Linked DNA regions of Homo sapiens: all the other regions are linked to region 2. Evidence: promoter capture Hi-C in human tissues and cell types (Jung and others, 2019). All regions are on one chromosome and are shown on one strand. The core of a region is centred on a gene start or on the middle of the fragment in contact, and the rest is flanking DNA. Distances in the headings are between cores, read along the strand shown. Region 1 overlaps PRKD2 (protein kinase D2). Region 2 holds the start of DMWD (DM1 locus, WD repeat containing). Region 3 has its middle 49 kb from the start of PNMA8B.

Region 1 (4,862 bases), core at 761-3,260, 920 kb after region 2:
CCCTGATAGTCATGTTAATGTGTCAGCTTGGCTAGGCGAGATCCACAGTTATTCAGACACTAATCTAGATGTTGCCATGAAGGTTGGTTTGTTTGTGGTTTTTTTTTTTTTTTTTTTTTTTGAGACGGAGTCTCGCTCTGTTGCCAGGCTGGAGTGCAGTGGCACGATCTCGGCTCACTGCAACCTCTGTCTCCTGGGTTCAAGTGATTCTCCTACCTCAGCCTCCCAAGTAGCTGGGACTATAGGCACATGCCACCACGCCCGCTAATTTTTGTATTTTTAGGAGAGATGGGGTTTCACCATGTTGGCCAGGGTGGTCTCAATCTCTTGACCTCATGATCCGCCTGCCTCAGCCTCCAAAGTGCTGGGGTTACAGGTGTGAACCACTGTGCCCAGTCAAGGTTTGTTTTTTCTTTTCACCTTCTCAACCCAGCTTTTCCCCGACTCCAGGAAGAACTGGGAAGAGAAGGCCCCATGGAGGTATTTTCTTTTCTTTTCATTTTTTTGAGACAGAGTTTTGCTCTTGTTGCCCAGGCTGGAGTGTAATGGTGCAATCTCAGCTCACTGCAAGCTCTGCCTCCCGGGTTCAAGAGATTCTCCTGACTGAGCCTCCCGAGTAGCTGGAATTACAGGCGTCCACCAACACGCCGGCTTTTTTGTATTTTTAGTAGAGACGGGGTTTCACCATGTTGGACAGGCTGGTCTCGAACTCCTGACCTCAGGTGATTCACCTGCCTCGGCCTCCCAGAGTGCTGGGATTACAGGCGTGAGCCACCGCACCCGGCCCAGTGGAGGTATTTTCTGGATGTGATGAAAATCCATAATCAGCTGACTGTAAGTGGGAGAGGTGATCCTGCTTGTTCTAGGTGGGTCTCATTCAATCAGCTGAATGTTTTAAAAAGCAGATCAGAGACTTTTCGGATGAAGAAATTCCACCTGTGGACATCAGCTTCAGCTTGTGCCTGAGTTCCCACTTGCCCTTCCTGATAGGATGGATTTTTTTTTCTTTTTCTTTTTATTGTTTTGTTTTTGTTTCTGTTTTCAGAAGGAGTCTCACTCTATCACCAGGCTGGAGTGCAGTGGCACAATCTCGGCTCACTGCAACCTCCTCCTCTCAGGTCCAAGCAATTCTCCTGCCTCAGCCTCCCAAGTAGCTGGGACTACAGGCGTGTGCCACCACGTCCGGCTAATTTTTTGTATTTTTAGTAGAGACGGGGTTTCACCATGTTAGCCAGGAGGGTCTCAATCTCCTGACCTCGTGATCCACCCGCCTCGGCCTCCCAAAGTGCTGGGATTACAGGCATGAGCCACCGTGTCCGGCCTTTTTCCTGTTTTTGAGCCAGGGTCTCGCTCTGTCACCCAGGCTGGTGTGCAGTGGTGCAATCAGGGCTCACTACAGTGTCGAGCTCCCAGGCTCAAGTGATCCTCCCGCCTCAGCCTCCCAAGTGGCTGGGACCACAAGTGTCTGTCACCATGCTTGGCTAATTATTTTTTGTACAGGCAGAGTCTTGCTATGTTGCCCAGGCTGGTCTTGAACTCCTGGCCTCAAGTGATCCACCTACCTTTGCCTCCCAAAGTGCTGGGATTACTGGCCTCCCCCACTGTGCCCAGCCAGATTTGAGTTGCCTAGCCAGCCCACACAATTCTGTAAGCTGATTCCTTGCATATAAATATCTCAATATATATCTCCTCCTGGATGTTTCTCTGCTTGATCCCTAACTGATAGAGGCCCCACCCTCTTCCCCCGCCACCCTTCTGCTCCCCTAGGCTCTGTTCTTAAGCCCCTACTTGTCCCTCCCAGCTCCACCTCCTAGGCTCCGCCCCTAGACCTGAGCCCCGGCCCAGCCCCACCACTCCTTCCCCAAGCTCTGCTTCTGGGCCCATCCTTCTTCCCATTATTACTTCCTAGGCTGCGCCCCCAGCTCTGAGACCCGCTCCTCCTCCCCACGCTGTCCCCGTGCCAGGACCATTACGCTCCGCCCCCGGTGCAGAGCCCCGCCCCAGGCCCCGCCCCCAACCCTTTAGCTCTCACCATCGCACTTGAGGCCCTGGCGCACTAGGCCGAAGAGCATCTCCCCGCAGTGATCACAGAAGGCAGGCGCCCGATAGGAGTGCACCGTGAGGGCGTGCGGGCGGATCTGGAAGTCCTCGAAGGTGGCCGAGGCTGTAGGCGGAAAATAGGGGTGGATGCTTGAGGCGGGGTAGGCCAAAGCTTTTCCAGACCCCACGTTCCCTGATTTCTCACAGTGCTCCCAGCCGCAAGGTGTGATCTTTCCTTCCTTCCTTCATTTGCTCTCATACTACATTCTGCCTGGGTTCAAATCCCAGCTCCACCCCTGAACAAAACACATATATCCCTACGCCCTGGGCAGGGACAGAGCGGGAATTGGGGAGTTGTTTAACGGGCAAGGAGCTTCAGTTTCGCAAGATGACAACAGTTCTGGAGACCGGCTGCACAACAGTGTGCGTGAACTTTAAATTACTGAACTGTACGCTTAAAAGTGCTTAAAATGTTGTGGGCTTTTTTGTTTGTGTTTGTTAGAGAGTTTCACTCTGTCACCCAGGCTGGAGTACAGTAGTGAGATCTCGGCTCACCACAAGTCCGCCTCCCGGGTTCAAGCAGTTCTCCTGCCTCAGCCTCCAGAGTAGCTGGGATTACAGGCATGCGCCACCACACCCGACTAATTTTTGTATTTTTAGTAGAGACGGAGTTTCACCATGTTGGCCAGGATGGTCTCAAACTCCCGACCTCAGGTGATCTGCCCGCCTCGGTCTCTCAAAGTGTTGGGATTACAGGCGTGAGCCACTGCACCCGGCCTAAAATAGTAATTTTTATGTTATGTATATTTTACCAAATTAAAAAATTTTTAATTAAAAATACCACCACCAACAACAAAAAAGAACATGGATAGGCGGTGCCCGGTGGCTCACATCTGTAATCCCAGCACTTTGGGAGGCCCAGGTGGGCGGATCACTTGAGGTCAGAAGTTCGAAACCAGCCTGGCCAACATGATGAAACCCCGTCTCTACTAAAAATACAAAAATTAGCCAGGCCTGGTGCCGCGTGCCTGTAATCCCAGCTACTCAGGAGGCTGAGGCAGGAGAATTGCTTGAACCCGGGAGGCAGAGGTTGCCGTGAGCCAAGATCATGCCACGGCACTCCAGCCTGGGTGACAGAGTAAGATTCTGTCTAAAAAAAAGAAAAAAAAAAAAAGCCCAGTGTGGTGGTGCATGCCTGTAATGCCTATAGTCCAGCCACCTCAGGAGGCTGAGGCGGGATGATTGCTTCAGTCTGGGAGGTAGAGGCTGCAGTGAGTGGTGGTCATGCCACTGCATTCCAGCCTGGGTGACAGAACAAGACCCTGCCTCAAAACAAAATAACAGGGCCGGGAGCGGTGGCTCACACCTGTAATCGCAGCACTTTGGGAGGCTGAGGTGGGCAGATCACTTAAGATCAGCAGTTCGAGACCAGCCTGGCCAACAAGGTGAAATCCCGTCTCTACTAAAAATACAAAAATTAGCCACGTGTGGTAGCAGGCGCCTGTAATCCCAGCTACTCGGGAGGCTGAGGCAGGAGAATCGCTTGAACCCAGGAGGCAGAGGTTGCAGCAAGCTGAGTTTGCGCCACTGCACTCCAGCCTGGGTGACAGAGCGAGACTCCGTCTAAAAAAACAAAAAATAATAAAAATGACAAAAACAAAACAAAACTCAGGTTTAGGGGAGAGACAACAATGAAGATAAAAATTCAAGTGAGGCCAGCTTATGATATGAAAGAGTACTTAAAGCCTGAACAAGGTCACTAAAGGTGTAAATCCAGACTTCTGTCATTCATTCATTGAGCCGGTTTCACTGGGCACTGCAGTATGCCGGAGCAGCAGGGAAGGCAGCCATGAAAAAGGCAGCTGCCCCCACCCTCAAGAGGGACCAAGGGCCATAGACTGCTCTAAGGTGCTGAGAGCATGCCCATCTATACTACTGGAATAGTGAGTGGATGAACTGGCTTCTGGCTGTGTCTTAGAAAATCACCTGGGGGCTTTTAAAAATACTGATGTGCAGATTCCATCTCACTTTGCAGAGATTCTGATTTAATTTAGCATTTTCGTGGCAGGAGCCATGGACATCATAACTTTTTTTTTTCTTTTTCTACTTTTTTTCTTTTTTAGAGATAGGGTCTCTCTCTGTTGCCCAGGCTGGAGTGCAGTGACATGATCGTGGCTCACTGCAGCCTCAAACTCCTAAGCTCAAGAAATCCTCCCACCTCAGCCTCCCAAGTAGCTGAGACTACAGACGTGTGCCACCTCGCCCGGTTAACTTTTTTTTTTTTTTTTTTTTTTAAGAGATGGGGTCTCCTTATGTTGCCCAGGCTGGTCTCAAACTCCTGGGCTCCAGCGATCCTCCCACCTCAGCCTCCCAAACTGCTGGGATTACAGGTGTGAGCCACTGCAGCTGGCCCATTTTTTACCTTTATATTTAAGCATAACACAGTCAGTTACAGATCCAACTCCTTCTTCTCCTCTTTTCCCCCTTCTAACTACTGCACTTGACTAGTTTTATAAATAAATAAGTATAACATATGTTCAGGAAAGGCCGCACATCACAAGTGCACAGCTCAATGAATTTTCAAACTGTACAAAGCGTGTCACTAGCATCCTAATCCATAAATGAAAGTTTAGACCAGTCCCTAAAGAGCGCCTTCATGACCCCACTCTGTAACCATCTTCCAGAAGCCCCCAACTCTCCTTATTTTTTTTTTTCAGAGGGAGAGAAAGGGGTAGAGATGGAATCTCACTATGTTGCCCAGGCTGATCTCGAACTCCTGGGCTCAAGCGATCCCCCCAGCTCCAGCTCAGCCTCCCAAAGTG
Region 2 (4,195 bases), core at 921-3,420:
AAAGAAAGAAAGAAAACCCAAGGAGTAAAGTATTCAGCACAAGGGTAACACAGCACAGGGCCTGGGTACAGTAAAGGCAGCTGTCATTAGCTGCTGTCACCCCATTCTCCATCTCTCCCTGGTCCTGCCCCTCTCAGGCCTACACTGTTCCGCAGGCAGCTGCATCCTAATGGCATATAGTGGGTAGGTGAGAAGGCAGAGAAGTTGGGGGCTCTGGGGGCTGCAATCACCTCCTCATTGAACAGCTTGCTGGTGTCCTTTTTGATGAGATCCAGGTACTGCACTTGACCCGCTGAGAAGCCCACCAGCAGCGAGATGGTCTCGGTGGCAGCAGTGAACTGGTTGAAATCGTGGCAGGTGGGCTGGGTGCCCTTGTAGATCCGCTTGTCAATTGGCTTGTTGAGGTCAATGGACTTGAGGGGTGGGAGAAAAGGAGTTAATGGTGTATGCCACTGAGGAGAAGGAAGAGGATGTTGAGGTTGGGGGAAACCACTAAGAGGAAGCAGGGTTAGAACCCAGAGGGAAGTGGGGAGGTGAGTAGGTGGATTGCGAAGGACGGGGCAACCACAGACGGGAAGGGGACCCAAATCACAGACAAGAGTAGCAAAAAAGATGGTAAGGATCCCCCTTGACCACAGTGCCTCCCCAAAGTTGGGTCACCTCTAATTCAGAGACACCCTTGTCCACATAATCAGGGTTCTGGGTCCACACAGTTCCTAAGCTCCGATTCCTTTTAGCCTCACCACTCCATCCTATAACCTCAGCAACTCCCTTGGGACCTAGTACCACACTATTCCAAGACCCCCAAACCTTGAGGTCACCCAAATTTCCAGGACTCTAAAGCCTAACATCCTAGCATTCTCTTCACTTTGTAGTCCCTAAACCGCCACAGTTCTGGGACCCGTCAAACCTCACGGTCTCCCACATTTTAGGCCCATTTATTACCTAGGGGCTCCGAAGGATCCCCATCATTTCTGGGATCACCATAAACGGCCAGGGTTCTCACCACATCGCTTTAGAGATGTCCTGAATCACACCTGCAGATTCCCCTGCCAGGGCCTCTCATTCCCTTGAGAGCTCCCATCAGCTTCCGGACGCTCATCTCCTCCAGGACCCTCATGACTTCCAGACCCCAATTTTCTCTAGAATCCCATTCAGCTTCTGGATCCCCTATCACCTTCAAGGCCCCCATCACTTCTAGACTTCTCCTCATTCCTGGGCTCAATCTCAAGACCCCTCTCCCACACCTCCAGGCTGCAATACTGGGTTCTCCATCACCTCTGGGCTTGCATCACCTCATGATTCCCCATTACCTGCAGAATGCCTGCCACCCCAGAACCCGGGGGATCCCACCTCATCTCAGATACCCCATCATGTCCAATAGTCACCATCCCAGAACTCCTACGCATAACGGGGGTAAAGGGGATTTCCCCCATCACCTCCAAGATGCCTGCCCAGCACCCCGCGGGCCTCTCATCACATTTCAGAATCCTGTACTCCCTCCAATGCTGTCGCCCTACAACGTCCATCACATTTAGAATGCCTATCTCAGGGCCCCATATCAATTCGGGGACCCTCCTATCAGTTCTCTGGAACCTCCATCCTTTCAGCACCCAGGGCCCCACGATGCAGGCCGCTCACCCGTTGGCTCCCACGACGACAGCAGCCTGGGTAGAAATAGAGCTCACGGCCCAAGTTGAAGCAGACGCGGTCTCCCCCCGAGCCCAGCCCCGCGGGCGTGGCGGGCGGCTCCCCGGCCCCGGCGCTGTCCGGCTCCCCGAGGCGCACGAGGCTGAGGCGCACGGCGGGCAGGGCGGGCCCGGGTCCGGGGCCTGCGGGCGGCGGGGACGACGCGGGGCCTGCAGCGCCGGGACCGGAGGCGGAGGCAGGGCCGGGCGGGGGCTGCGGTGGCTGAGGCGGCACCGGAGTCTGGGCGGAAGCCGGACCCGACCTGCGAGCGGCGCCGTCGCCCGGGAGTAGCTTGTAGAAACCCTCGCGCGTGCGGAATTGCGACTTAATCTCCGCGCAGTCCCCCATGGCGGCGCCGGGGCCCGAGCCGCCCTCCGCGCCGCCCGCCGCCATCTTGGGCGCCCCCCGGGCCCCGCCACTGCCGGACTGCCGCCCGCAGCCGGGCCCCCTCCCGGAAGCCGCTGGCCCGCGCCGGAAAAGGTGGGGTCGTCGCCCGGGCAACGCCTCTTCGATTGGCACCCAGATCCGGAGGCGGGACGAATCCCCGCGGTCGCTCGGGTAACGGTGCTGGGACTGTGGGCGGGGCGAGAAGGTGGGCGCGGCCTTTGAGCCTGTGACCGACTTGTGGTTGGCTGCGGGGGCGGAGCCCGCAATGGAAAGAGGCGTGGCCAGTTAGAAAGCTCAAGTCCTTAGCAACCGCGCCCTGGGAACGTTTGCCTAGCAACGGAGGGATTTTTTTTTTTTTTTCCCCCACGACAAAGAAGCCCTCATCCATAGTCCAGCCTTCCCATGAAGTCACAGCCAACCCCAAGTGACCCTGGTCTCTCCTTAGACGCCCAATATACACTCCCCTGACCTCCAGTGTTTCCCACTGACATATTCAAATCCCTGAATGACCACAGCATCTGCTACCATTCTTCCCCACCCTTGGTGACCCACCAAATCCCTGTGTCCCCACACAACTCAGAGGACTTCCTCTGACCCACTATTGATTAATGCTAACTCCAAACATCCTTCATATTTTCCACCAACCTCCAATGTATATTTCCATGATTTTCTTATTTTCAACAACCTCACTTGTCCTCCAAAACCTACCTCTGATTCCCAAATTGTATTGATCCCCACGGTGCCCCAGTGTCCCAGTGATCCACTCGTAACCCAAAGTCTCCCCCTGATCCCAACAGCTCCTACTCATAGCCAGTGCTCCCCATGTCTGCTGAAGCCACCCAGCCCCATCATAGATCTTTCTAGTCTCATGTAGTCAATGGCCTCTACGATTTCTCCCTAGAGTGTCCCAAGGGCATCTCACACTTAAAAAAAAAAATCCTACAATGGTTCGGGCATGGTGGCTCATGCCTGGAATCCGAGAATCCCAGCACTTTGGGAGGCTGAGGTGGGAGGATCGTTTGAGCCCAGGAGATCAAGACTGCTATGAATTCACATCACTGCACTAAAGCCTGGGGGACAGAGTCAGACTCAGTCTCTCTAAAAAAAAAAAAAAAAGAAAGAAAAAAGAATCCTACAATGAAATTGACGTCTTACACCAAATCCTCCACCTCTCTTGCATCCCCACCTTAGGGCTAGCTCTGCCGTCCACTCAGTCAACCAGGCCACAGACCTGGGTGTCTTCCTAGATGTGTACCATTTATCTTCACTCTGCCCCCGCTTACAGCCTCCAAGTCTTTTGCATTCGACCACGTGGAATTCCTCTTTCTCAGTTCCTTGTTCTCCCTGATCCAAGCTTCTCCTCTACCCAAGCCCTTCCCCCACCCCCACATCAACCGTGTCTCTTGGTCTCCCAGATTTCTGTCTCACCCCCACTTCCACCTTTCACTTGGCATGTAGAGAGGTTTTATTTTGTTTTTGTTTTTGTTTTTTTTGAGACAGTCTCACCCTGTCACCCAGGCTGGAGTGCAATGGCTCCATCTCGGCTCAGAGACGGGGTTTCACCATGTTGGCCAGTCTGGTCTCGAACTCCTGACCTCAGGTGATCCACCCACCTCGGCCTCCCAAAGTGCTGGGAGTACAGGCATGAGCCACTGCACCCGGCTTTTTTTTTTTTTTTTTTTTTTTTTGAGACAGAGTCTCGCTCTTGTCACGTGGGCTGGAGTGCAATGGGACGATTTTGGCTCACTGCAACCTCTGCCTCCTGGGTTCAAGTGATTCTCCTGCCTTAGCCTCCTGAGTGGCTGGGATTACAGGCACCTGCCACCACACCCAGCTACTTTTTTGTAGTTTTAGTAGAGACGGGGTTTCACCATGTTGGGCATGCTGGTCTCAAACTCCTGACCTCAGGTGATCCGCCAACCTTGGCCTCCCTAAGTGCTGGGATTACATGTGTGACCCACTGCACTAGGCCTAGAGAGGTCTTTCTAAAGCATGAATATGATCAGGGCCCTCCCCTGCTCAAAACCCATCTGTAGCTCCCTAGTGCTCTCAGGGGAAAGTTAAGCCCCAAGTGATCTGGCCCCTGCCAACCTCTTTTCAATCTCATATCTCACCACTA
Region 3 (4,426 bases), core at 369-2,868, 750 kb after region 2:
TCCCGTGCAGCCAGGAGCTCCAGTTAATTTTCCTGTTACCAGCCTCATTTGTTAACTCTGTTCATTTGTGTCTTTCCTTGAAAGGATAATTTGAACAAAAGAGTCTAAGATTTTTTTAGAAATTGTTGCAATATCTGAAAAAAAAAAAAAAGAACCTCCCAAAGAAACCTGCATTCTGATTGGTTGTCTTCCTTGATTATTTGTTGCTATGGTGACCAGGAGGTTAAATAGCATCTCTGTATTTCCTAAAGAATAAATACTGGTTGGTTTTCTCTGGCAAATCAGAAAAGGATCATTTCTCTCCTTCCATGATCATGATGCAATAAAAGCCTAGGGCTCTTCTAGATTTATATTTTATCAAAGAAAGTGAGAGTCTTGTCTTATCCAAATTAACAGAAGCACTTAGTCCAGTGTCCAGTCGCTTGAGTGGCGGTGGCCACTCTCGGAAGGGCAATTACAAACTGTACTAATAGTAAGTCCAGCGCGCCATCTGGTGGCCAATTAGAGAATAGCATGACCGTATCTACTTAAACTAAAAGGCGACTCACCTCCCTTCTTGTCTGTTAAGGCTGCCCTAGCAAATTAATACAATAAGCTTGTTCCTGTTGGTCTTAGTCTGATTGAGAAAGAACCCTTGACTGCTTTGACCCATAGAATATGACAGATGTGACACTGTGCTGGGCATGGCGGCTCACGCCTGTAATTCCAACACCGAGAAGCAGAGGTGGGCGGATCGCTTGATCCCAAGACTGCAAGACCAACCTGGGCAACACAGAAAGACCCCAACTCTACTAAAAATAACTTTTTTGTTTTGTTGTGAGACGGAGTTTCGCTCTTGTCGCCCAGGCTGGAGTGCAATGGCGTGATCTCGGCTCACCACAGACTCCGCCTCCTGGGTTCAAGCGATTCTCCTGCCTCAGCCTCCCGAGTAGCTGGAATGACAGGGGTCCGCCACCGCACGTGGCTAATTTTGTATTTTTAGTAGAGACAGGGTATATCCATGTTGGTCAGGCTGGTCTTGAACTCCCGACTTCCACCCACCTCCGCCTCCCAAACTGTTGGGATTACAGGCGTGAGCCACCACTCCCGGCCAAAAATATAACTTTTAAAAATAGGCTGGCGTGGTGGCCCGCACCTGTAGTCCCAGCTACTCGGGAGGCTGAGGCAAGAGGATCCCTTGAGCCTAGGAGGTAGAGGCTGCGGTGAGCTATGATGGCGCCGCTGCACTCCAGCCTGGGTGACAGAACGAGACCCTGTCTAAACAAACAAACAAACAAACAAACAAGTGACACCGCCAGGCCTGGATCTACATTTTAAGGGAACCAGCAGATTCCGTCGTGATCTCTTTGGCTCCCAGGCTACTGTGTAAGAATTGCAACTCCCCAGCCGGGCGCGGTGGCTCACGCCTGTAATCCCAGCACTTTGGGAGGCCAAGGCGGCGGATCACGAGGTCAGGAGATCGTGACCATCCTGGCTAACACGGTGAAACCCCGTCTCTACTAAAAATACAAAAATTAGCCGGGCGTGGTGGCAGGCGCCTGCAGTCCCAGCTACTCGGGAGACTGAGGCAAGAGAATGGTGTGAACCCAGGAGGTGGAGCTTTCAGTGAGCCCAGATCGCGGCCACTGCACTCCAGCCTAGGCGACAGAGCGAAACTCCGTCTCAAATAAATAAATAAATAAATAATAAAAAAAGAATTGCAGCTCCCCTAAGAGCATGGAGCTGTGAGAAGGCCCAGGAGAATTGAAGCTTCCAGACATGGGAGTGAAGAAGCCATCTTGGAGGTGGGTCCTCCAGCCCTCATCACATGATGCCACGTGGAACAGAAATGAACATCCAGTCAAACCCTTTTCACATTCCTGACCCACAAAATCCTGAACAAGCTTGGGAATTAAGCTATTACTGTGCCATTTTTTGTTGTTGTTGTTTTTGTTTTTTCTTTTTGTTTTGTTTTGGGTTTTTTTTTTTTTTTTTTTTTTTGGTTTTCTGGGTTTTATTTGAGATAGAGTTCTGCTCTTGTTGCCCAGGCTGGAGTGCAATGGCACTATCTCGGCTCACTGCAACCTCCGCCTCCTGGGTTCAAGTGATTCTCCTGCCTCAGCCTCCTGAATAGCTGAGATTACAGGTGCCCACCACCACGCCCGGCTAATTTTTGTATTTTTAGTAGAGACAGTGTTTCGCCACGTTGGCCAGGCTGGTCTCAAACTCCTGACCTCAAGTGATCCGCCCACCTCGGCCTCCCAAAATGCTGGGATTACAGGCGTGAGCCACCGCCTGCGGCCATTGTGCCACTTTTATAGAGGAGGAGATTGAGGTTCAGAGGCCCAGTTGATGGTCCAAGATCACACACTGGGAAGTACTGGAACCAGGGTTATGAAATCCTGTCTGCTTGGCTGCAAAGCCTCTACTCTTCCACACTGCATTATTTAGGAAGACAGACAGGCTTTGGGCACGAGCGTGGGCCTCACTGAGGGGAGAGGGGCCTTCTGGCCTCAGTAATATCCCTGTTCCCTTCTCTGACTGTCACTTCCCCCTTAGAGACAGAGTTTCTGCAGAGTGGAGTCTCTTCTCACGCCTGGGAGAGTTTGTGCAGGAGACATGAGAGCTGAAGATCTGGCACCACCTTTGCCTTAAAGACAAAAGGTGACATTTGGGAAAAGCATGCCACTCTTCGAGTGGTACTTAAGGATCCATGGGCTGAATCTGCCTTTTTTTCCCCAACTGATTTGGCAAGGACCTTCAAATAAATCCAGTGGAGCTTCTTGGGGCAGCATGGCCCACTCTCAAGAGTTTAGCCTTTGAGTCATGTGTGGTGGCTCGTGCCTATAATCCCAGCACTTTGGGAGGCCGAGGCAGGCTCACTTGAGGTCAGGAGTTCAAGACCAACCTAGCCAACATGGTGAAACCCCATCTCTGCTAAAAATACAAAAATCAGCTGGGCATGGTGGCAGGCACCTGTAATCCCAGCTACTCAGGAGGCTGAGGGAGGAGAATCGCTTGAACCCAGGAGGCAGAGGTGGCAGTGAACTGAGATCGCACTACTGTACTCCAGCCTGGGCAACAGAGCAAGACTCTGTCTCAAAAAAAAAAAAAAAAAAAAGAGAGAGAGAGAGAGAATTTAGCCTTTGGACTCGCACAGATCTAGGTTCAAACTCCAGCTTTGCTACTGCAGCCTCAGCGCACTTATCTGTAGAATGGGATTTCAAAATGATGTCTGCTTCTCAAAGTTGCTTTGAGAATTTGCTGATATTTTGTCTTTAAAATACTTCATTGTGTGCTGCCTTACACAAAGATCAGAATCTCTGAAAGGACAGGACAGGAACTTTTTACTCACTCACTGCTTCACTCACTGCTGTATGCCCAGTGCTTTCAAAAGCACCTGGGGCTGGGCGCGGTGGCTCATGCCTATAATCCCAGCAGTTTGGGAGGCAGAAGAGAGCAGATAACCTGAGATCAGGAGTTCAAGACCAGCCTGGCCAACATGGCAAAACCCCGTCTCTACTAAAAATCCAAAAAAAAAAAAAATTAGCCAGGCATGGTGGCGCATGCCTGTAATCCCAGCTACTCAGGAGGCTAAGGCATGAGAATTGCTTGAACCCGGGAAGCGGAGGTTGCAATGATCCGAAATCAAGCCACTGCACTCCAGCCTAGGCTCCATCTCATAAAAAAAAAATAATTAAAAACAGTAAAAATAAATAAAAAGCACTCAGCGTGGGATTTTCAATAAATAGTTACTGAATGAGTAAATCAAAAGCAGTCAATGTTACATATGATGATCAGGGCATTTTCAGTTGCAAGCAACAGAAATCTAAGTCAAACTGGCTAAAGGAGAAACAAAAATTCACTGGCCATCTTATTGTAAGACAATAGTGTAGCTTAAACAATAAAAACAAATTGAATTCTCTTTCCCATAGTAGCTCCGGGGTGAATGACCTTGTGAGGCTGTGCGTGTGGCCATCATTCAGGAACCCAGATTCTTTCGGATTGTTGCTTAAAGTGTAGTCCCGAGACCAGCAGCAGCCTCTGGCAATTCATAGGAAATGCACATTCCCAGGTTCCCCCAAGACCTACTAAGTCGGAAGCTCCGGGGGCAGGACCCAGAAAACTGTGCCCTAACAAACTCTCCAGGGAATTCTGATGCCCACTTTGAGAGCCACTGACCTCATGCTCTGTCAGCATTTGCATAATTGAATGTGCCACCTCTGAGTGACTTGGTGAAAGGGAAAAAAGAGAAAGTTCAGAGCAAGACATTTCCTTGAAAGCAGGTAAAGTGGAAATTGCGCAAGTCATGTCCAACTGCAAGCCACTGGGGAGGACCCAGTCATGTGGCTGCAGCCAACCTCAAGGGAGGCTGGGAAATGTAGTCCCCAGCCAGGCAGCCATGTGCCTGAGGAGAAGAGGAGATGGGCTTTTGCTGTCCAAAGGT

Evidence for each region. Contacts are between HindIII fragments. The study calls those that stand out against the background at their distance.
Region 1: a contact is called between a fragment that was not itself captured here and the fragment with the promoter of DMWD in region 2, in 1 of the 25 tissues and cell types used here (psoas muscle).
Region 3: a fragment that was not itself captured here is called in contact with the fragment with the promoter of DMWD in region 2 in 2 of the 25 tissues and cell types used here (dorsolateral prefrontal cortex and hippocampus).

What each region holds. Positions count from the first base shown.
Region 1 is chr19:46,708,875-46,713,736 of GRCh38, forward strand. It overlaps PRKD2 (protein kinase D2), which reads right to left. Exons shown (of 18, transcript NM_016457.5): 3 at 2,033-2,164. MIR320E (microRNA 320e) reads right to left here and starts at 480; the gene lies at 408-480. RefSeq lists an enhancer at 975-1,793. The HindIII fragment of the contact is 4,265 bases long and covers 1-4,143 here.
Region 2 is chr19:45,790,675-45,794,869 of GRCh38, forward strand. DMWD (DM1 locus, WD repeat containing) reads right to left here and starts at 2,171. Exons shown (of 5, transcript NM_004943.2): 1 at 1,642-2,171; 2 at 231-413. The coding sequence starts at 2,082. RefSeq lists enhancers at 542-601, 622-671 and a silencer at 1,820-2,299. The HindIII fragment of the contact is 5,315 bases long and covers 904-4,195 here.
Region 3 is chr19:46,542,376-46,546,801 of GRCh38, forward strand. It overlaps the pseudogene PPP5D1P. Among named protein-coding and RNA genes, the nearest start is that of PNMA8B, 49 kb to the left of the region's middle. The HindIII fragment of the contact is 3,360 bases long and covers 1-3,298 here.